Regions from separate parts of the Homo sapiens genome. Here region 2 is linked to region 1. Evidence: promoter capture Hi-C in human tissues and cell types (Jung and others, 2019). All regions are on one chromosome and are shown on one strand. The core of a region is centred on a gene start or on the middle of the fragment in contact, and the rest is flanking DNA. Distances in the headings are between cores, read along the strand shown. Region 1 holds the start of NMT2 (N-myristoyltransferase 2). Region 2 holds the start of LOC124902378 (a long non-coding RNA gene).

Region 1 (3,744 bases), core at 443-2,942:
AAGAAAACACAGGTACTGAAGCTAATCCATCAGCTTGCATCTGCACCTGGGCCCATTTCTGGCAATAGAACTACCGTTTCAAAAACATATTTGTATTTAGCTATCTATCACAAACACGTTTCTATCCCTGCATAAACAGGGCTCAGGTTCAGATTCCTATGCAATTTCCTTTCCTCTCTTTAAAAAAAAAAATATTCTAGACTCGAACATTCGATACTTGCAGCCGCCACTGAAGTATTCACGGCAAAGATAAAAACAACTTGCAAATGGGAGATGCACATAGTCAGCTTTTCTTTTTCTTCATTTGTTAATATTTTATAATGAATTAGAGGTCAGTCAAAAGTCCCTTTCTATAATAAATCTTAAAGTAGACAAGTAGAATGCAAATGATTTACACTTTCAATGATCAATCATTTCAAGAATCTCTCTACGAACTGAGTAAACCATCTGTGACTCAGGCCTCCCTATCATGTTTTTTAAGCTGACCCACTTCTCCATCACTCACCATGGTTCGAAAAATCTCACTTCTAAGGGTGTAGCAAGAACCGCTCTGTGCCAGCGCATAGTTTGAATCCAATAGGGTAAAAGGGTAATGTAAACAGCACTTTAAAAGGACACCAGTTTTTATTTAAAATGACCCACTGCCTCTAAAAAGAGAGCATCAACACCGGCCTTCACCTGAAGCAATCCTTTTCTCCAACAGAAGAGCAAATCAAGTCTGCAGGGTTCGGGGGCAAAGGGAAAGGATTAAGAAATCCGATCAAGTGTGAAAATGCGTGGTGCATCGAGTTTTGGAGATCAAATACCAGCTTTGCAAACAGGATACGGCCAGGTCAGCGGGAGCCCGGTTCAGGGGATCGGCCCTGCTCTGAAGAGCTCTAGGGACAGGCGAGGCGGTGCAAAGCCCAGTATCCCCAGCAGGGGCCGGGCCCGGGACCCCCTCGGCGCCAGAACTTTGCGCAGTTCGCCGCCTGCGGCCCCGACACCATCGGGGCACCTCCACGCCGCTCCACCCACGTCTTTGCCCATTCTTTTCGGGTGGCGGCTGCGGAGAGGGAGTCTGAAGGGACTTAACAAGGATGGCAGGGAGCAGAGGAGGGCGACCTCCTACCCCAGGCTGCGGCCGCCACAAAGGGAAGGGCGTAGCGCCTCTCCTCGGCGCCCACCGGAGCCACCCGCGGGCGAGGGCAACAGGCGCCTCCTGGGCCAGGCCGCCGGCGGGGATGGGCGAGGCTGGCCGGGGGCGCGCGGCAAGTGACAGTAGCGTCTCCCCGCCCGGGCCCCAGCCTCCCCGCCCACCCCGGGCCTCGCCTCCCCGCGCACTGCACTCTCCCGCGAGCCGCGCGCCCCGGACCTCACCATGGGCTCCGCGCCACGGAGAAGCCATCGCGGGGCGGAGCGGCCGAAGAACCCCCAGTCCTGGGAGCCACCCCCGAACGGGAGACCGTGGCGCGCGCGGTCCCCGCCCTGTCGCGCCCGGTGCGCCAGCGCGCCGCCCCTACCCTTTGGCGTGCTCCGTCTCCTCCTCATTGTCCCCGTCTATCCCGCACGTGTCCTGGTCGTCCAGTTCCAGGCTCTGCTGGCTGGCCGCAGACTCGCTGTCCTCCGCCATCGCGGCGGCGCTGGCTGGGGAGGCGGTGCTCGGGGCCGGGCCGGAGCGGCCGCAGCTCCCTCTAGTGCCTCCCGCCGTACTGCTTGGAGTCGGAGCCCGGGCGCTACGCCCCGCCCCGCCCCGCCCGCGCCCCGTCCCGCCCTCCGTCCCGCCCCCTCCCCGCCCTCCGTCCCGCCCCGCCCTCCATCCCCGCCCCTCACCGTCCGCGCCCAGCCCGCCGGCCCCGCCCTGCCCGCCGGCCCCGCCCTGCCCCACGGGCTTGAACCCCGCCCACCTCTTCGTCCCTCCCCACCAAGCCCCGCCTCTCCCCGTCCCGCCGGCTTCAATCCAGCTCTCTAACCCCGCCCGCCTCTGAGACCCCTCCCCTCCAGCCCCGCCTTTCCCCACCCTGCCGGCTTCAAACCCGCCCTCTAACCCCGCCCACCGCCGCAGCCCCTCCCAGATGGCCCCGCCCCTCCCCGCCCCGCCAGCTCCAACCCTGCTCACCCTGGCCAGCCCTGCACAGGGCCGAGTCCTGTACATCCAGGCCTGCGCGGTGCCTCTGCCTGGGGCTCGGCTCTCAAAGCTGCAAACGTGCAGACTTGACATCCTGAGTGGCGGCATTTTTGGAACACAGGCCATGCGATTTTACTTCTGGACGAATTAGGGAGCGCTCCCAGCCCGTGCAGGGGTTTTTCCCACTCAGGAGTAGGCACTCAGGGATGGGGCTTTCCAGAAACTCTTCCCGCCCCTCCACATACATGTTAACAATTCCATTTCGCATCTATCTATCCATCTAATACATTATAAAATCAAATTCAAAGTCAAAAACAGTATTTCCAGCCCTCCACCGCCCTGTCCCAACCAGGCTTGCAGCACTAAAACTCTTGACAGAAATTTTTGAGCTACCCCTGCTTTCCCTGGACACTACTACGGACGGCTCAGACCAGAACAGACATCTTGAGGGACTTGGGGACGTGTCCACGATGCTGGGGGATTGGACAGTTTCAGGTAGGCTACCCTGGCTTTCCCAAAGTCAAGGTCATGACCTAGATTTCCAAGCAAACGTGCACGGCCTTCTGTGCTGAAATTGTCCGCTGTCTCTCTCAGAAGAGGGAAGGGAGGCATTCTGTAGTACTGCCAAATAGAAGACCGGTGAAGTTCAGCCTCTCTTATTTGCTACTGCATTCTGTACAGAGCAGTCCTGTCCTTTGCTTTGCTGAGATGATCTTGTTCAAATGTGCTGCTAGGCCACCGGAAGTCTCCGCAGTGGTTTTGCAAAGATAATCATCAGAACCCGCTCAGTGAGGAAAATGAGACTTTAAAGAGCCACCTGAATTTTTTGGTGTGGGTCCTTTTTTTGCAGAAGATACTAGGAGCATTTTATGGCTTTTTTCCCCAAGGGAGACTATGTTTTTAAAACGCAATGAGCTAGAAGTATCAAAAGATGAAAACTGCAGAGCGATTTCAAAGCCCGTCAGCTGTTTGGCATTGAGACAACTAAAATTCTGTAAGAAGGGCAAATGGGGTCAAAACACAAAAGGAAATACAATATTGCCTTTAACAACGGCAACTATTTCTGAGGCAAAATGTCACATGTCACCTCTGTGAAACTTTAGGATAGAAGCAAATACAGATGAGTGAGGTTCCTGCAGCTCATCTCTGTGAACATGGATTGTTGGAGAACCCGCAGCCCGCTCGGGTAACCAACAGGAAACTGGCCAGGAGCAAGCCTATCAATCAAATCATCCACTCTAACCTGCCAGAAGGGTTCTCTAAAAGAGTTTTTAAAACTTAAGGCAAAGGAAACTCAGCAGTCATATATTTATCTGAATTTTCAAGAAGTTTTGACTAAGAACTGCTCTAAAAAAGAATAAGAAAACAAATAATCCTGGAAAAATAAAATGAGGGCATCAAAAACCAGTGAAACACTAGAAAACAATGACAAACAGGGAACATCTGTTCCCCAGAATGGAAACAAGTTGGTACAGTACTGGATTGAAGTACATCGGTACAGTACTGGATTGAAGTATTATATAATACAAATGTTTTACAGCATTAATCTTTGGAAGGAAGGAAAAGTTTACAGATGACCCTGGGGCTTCCTAAATCCTACTGTCCCGTATAGAAACACTATGTTTCTAAATATTTTT
Region 2 (3,785 bases), core at 331-2,830, 990 kb before region 1:
GAAGAGTAATATTTATTGAGCATCAGCTTTGTTCCAGGGCTTGAGCTAGATACTCTTCAGTGTCATCTCACTTAATTTTAACAGGTGTATTATTATTCCCATTTAACATATGATGACCTGAGATTGAGAGCATTAAGTATGGTAGTAGATAGCATCATTTGGTCCTGATTATTCATACATTTTGTTATCCATGCAATTTGCTGTGTGACTTTGCCACCCTCTCTTTTTCCCCAAGTATGGATAGAAGGCTAGCAAAGGCGGTACAAGCAGAATTTTGAAATGCGCATGGGAAAGATACACCCACGCTAGTCTGCTGATTCCAACGGGAGGATAACAGAAGACCCAACCTCCATTACAGACTTACGAGCAAGCCAGAGAATCACAAATGAGTGAGACTAGCCAAGATCAGCTGAGCCCAGCCTACATCAGCAAAACTCTACAGTCTTCTGAAAAACCAATGCCTATTACTGTGTGGCACCAGGCATTGCATTTGTTATGCAGCCAATGGATACGATTCCTAATCCAAGATGAGAGTTCCTAAACTGTGGAGCAGAGCTGACTAGAACTCCAAACGCAGGTTTTCTCACTCCAAAAATTTCAAGTTCTTCCAATGCTGTCACATTTCTGTGGCTCACCCATGCGCAGTGATGGGTTGTATGATTACTATTTTCCAGACCCCAGATCAATGTCTAAGCTCCAAGACACACATTCCGGCACTTCTATGTTATTGAATGTCAAGTATAGGATCTACTGTATTTTATTTACAATTCCTTAAAATTGTGGCACACTGAGGAAAACACGGTATGAGGTTCTATGCCTTGATCAGTCATCTCGTCTTTATGATCTTTTAGACTCTGCCCCATTTTCTAAAGAACAGCAATTGCCTAAAGTTATCAGCAATCGGTACAGAAGTTAATTGGAATCTAGCCCTTGGAGACTTTTCCCTTCAGCAGTTCTTGCCTTTCCGAAAAAGTGTCTCACAGTGGGAAAAATAAAACTGCTTTTCTTCATTATCATAAACACTTCAGCTGGAAATGGTTCTCTACCTGCCCCGATGTTTTATGAAAACATCTAAAGAGCAGAGTGACATTATTTTCCCGTGTTTGAAAAGAGGTATTTCCACTTTTTTCTTTTTTTTGTTTTTTTCCTTAAGGTTTGTGGTTTAAGTACTTTTGTCAAGAGGGAGAAGAAAACCGACAGCTGCTGCAGCCCCAGATCGCTGCCCCGTGTTTGCTCAGAAGACCTCTGGGAGCCCAGATAAGGAGAAAGCTGAGAGACAGGCATCTGGGCGGAAGCAATGCCTCCTTCTTCCCGTCGTCACAGAGGGGAAGCAGTTGGATGTTCCTGCAAAGTTAGCATGCAGGGTAGCATTTTTACCTCCCGCTTTTGTTGGGTTATTTCCAAGCTCCAAACTAAAGAATTGTGCGACAGAAATTATGTAGGGAAACATTTTAATTTTTGACAAATAAAAATTGCACATATTTCTGGTATAAAACACTATGTTCTGATATATGTACGCATTGTGAAATGATTACCATGAATTTTTTTTATTTGAGATAGGGTCTCACTCTGTTGTCCAGGCTGGAGTGCAGGGGCACAATCACAGCTCACTGCAACCTCGGCTTCCTAAGCTCAAGCAATCCTCCTGCCTCAGCCTCCCCAGCAGCTGGGACTACAGATGTGCACCAACATGCCCAGCTAATTTGTGTACTTTTAGTTGAGATGGGGTTTTGCCATATTGACCAGGCTGGTCTTGAATTCCTGAACTTGAGTGATCTGCCCGTCTCGGCCTCCCAAAGTGCATGCTGGGATTACAGACGTGAGCCACGGTACCCGGACTACATCTTTTCTTGATATTTCTGTCAAAATGTTCAGGATTGTCACGACTTGGACAAACCACTTTCAAAAGCTTTGTTTATTTGTGGCTTTTTCTTTATAAGAGGCAACCCCAACACTACTACCAAACTGCCGTATAATTGTTTATCAAACCTAGACTGGGGAGGGGACAAAAATGATAGTGATCAATGGAGATGGGAGTTGACACAGTTTCTGCTTCTAAGACTTCTTTGAACTCTCAAGCTGTGTTTTTAAAAAGAGAGAGAGATAGGGTGCAGTAGCACATGCCTGGAATCCCAGTGCTTTCGGAGGCTCAGGCAATGAAATTGCTTGGGGCCAGTAGTTCAAGACCAGCTTGGGTAACATAAGAAGACACTGTCTCTACAAAAAATAAAAAATAATAATAATAGCCAGGCAAGGTGGCACATGCCTATAGTTTCAGCTACTTGGAGGGCTAAGGCAGGAGGAGAGTTTGAGCCCAGGAGTTTGAGGCTGCAGTGATCTCTGATCTTGCCACTGCACTCCAGCCTGGACAACAGAGCAAGAGAAGTCTGACAAGACAAAAATTTTTTTTTTCTCTAATTGGCCTATCCTTCATGGTAGGGGTGTGAAAGAGACCCCCATCATCTACCCTAAAAGTAACTCATGAACTCCTTGGTACAGGGATGTTCCTAGGTTCCTTCAAGGTGGACACATATGCTGAGAACCTCCTTTAAGGCAGGTTCGACCGGGGGCTCTGCCCTGAGGTTACCAGTGTGAAGAGTACAGGTGAAGGCTGTTGAAAAATTTAAGAACTCCAAGGATTAGAGGTAACAATCACAGAAACCTTCTGAATTCTACTGAGTGAGAACTAGCAGGAGGGTTGAACAATTCAAGTGGAAGCAAACGTTGGGAGAAGTACTCATTTCACCTGGGATTGTTGATTAGGCTGCTTCAAGGGAAATCCTATTCTTGAAGGTGGCTTTGACCATCTGGAGGAGGTTAGGATGTTGGTGCGTGGGGCTGTCGTAAGCAGGATGGGGTGGAGATGTGTAGGAGGTGAGGGAGGACTTCAGACAGAGAGACTGACCCATGCTGAAAAAGCATAGAGCTAGGCAGTAACATATTTGAAGAGAAAAACAAGAACACTGAAGTTTACAGAGTGCTGATAAGTGATCTCCAGATTATATGGTCTTAGACTCGATTTTTCTTAATTTAAAATTGAATTTACACCTCACTTTATTTGAAAAGTTATGTGTCATGCACGAATGAAATAATGTGCAGACAGAGTTCACTTTATATCATTAGTGGTGTCTTGGAAAGTTACACATTAATTTATTTAGAAATCTGCAGGAAATTCCTTTATGTTATAAAAGCTCATTCTTCTAAGTTATTCTAATTTTACAAGTTGGAATGGGCCATGCCTGCAGAGTGTTTGATGGTCCCTTTAACAGTACTGGGATTGTCTAATAATGGAATTATGTTTACAATGTGACCTTTCAAACAATAAATGTGCCTCAATGTGCATTATCTTCATAGCTCTAAGGAGTTGTTTCTTTTTTTTTTTTCAAATCACTCCTGTGTCTTAAATTTCCTTGGCCAGCTTCAACCTGAGGCACAAAGGAAAGTAATTGCTTGATTCAATTTCTCACTGTGTCAAAATAATGAAATTGATGGGCATCTTTTACTCCCAAACCTGGAAATGCACTCTATTTTGCAAATTGAATCTTAACCATGGTATCTAAATATGTTCATTAAAAGCAAAACTACTGTCTTTTAAAAATGTTCATAAACAGAGACACTCATGCCTGAGGTCATAAAGCCAAGTTGGCATTTTGATCAGGTGTGAAGAATATTTCTGTCTCAATTTTAGTAAGACATGATTTTTCTGACTCAGTACCTCAGCATAACCTAAGAAACCAAACTTTGTGAACAGTATTGACTTTAAACATCATAGTAATCATAAGAAC

The links. The method cuts DNA at HindIII sites, captures the fragments that hold promoters and counts their contacts. A contact is called where the count stands out against the background at its distance.
Region 2: a contact is called between a fragment that was not itself captured here and the fragment with the promoter of NMT2 in region 1, in 1 of the 25 tissues and cell types used here (pancreas).

The regions. Positions count from the first base shown.
Region 1 is chr10:15,167,001-15,170,744 of GRCh38, forward strand. NMT2 (N-myristoyltransferase 2) reads right to left here and starts at 1,693. Exons shown (of 12, transcript NM_004808.3): 1 at 1,503-1,693. The coding sequence starts at 1,612. RefSeq lists a silencer at 1,063-1,892. The HindIII fragment of the contact is 12,871 bases long and covers 1-3,744 here.
Region 2 is chr10:14,180,156-14,183,940 of GRCh38, forward strand. The region is part of intron 2 of FRMD4A (FERM domain containing 4A); the gene reads right to left. It overlaps LOC124902378 (a long non-coding RNA gene), which reads left to right and starts at 2,735. Exons shown (of 2, transcript XR_007062060.1): 1 at 2,735-2,816. RefSeq lists an enhancer at 1,095-1,389. The HindIII fragment of the contact is 3,305 bases long and covers 1-3,233 here.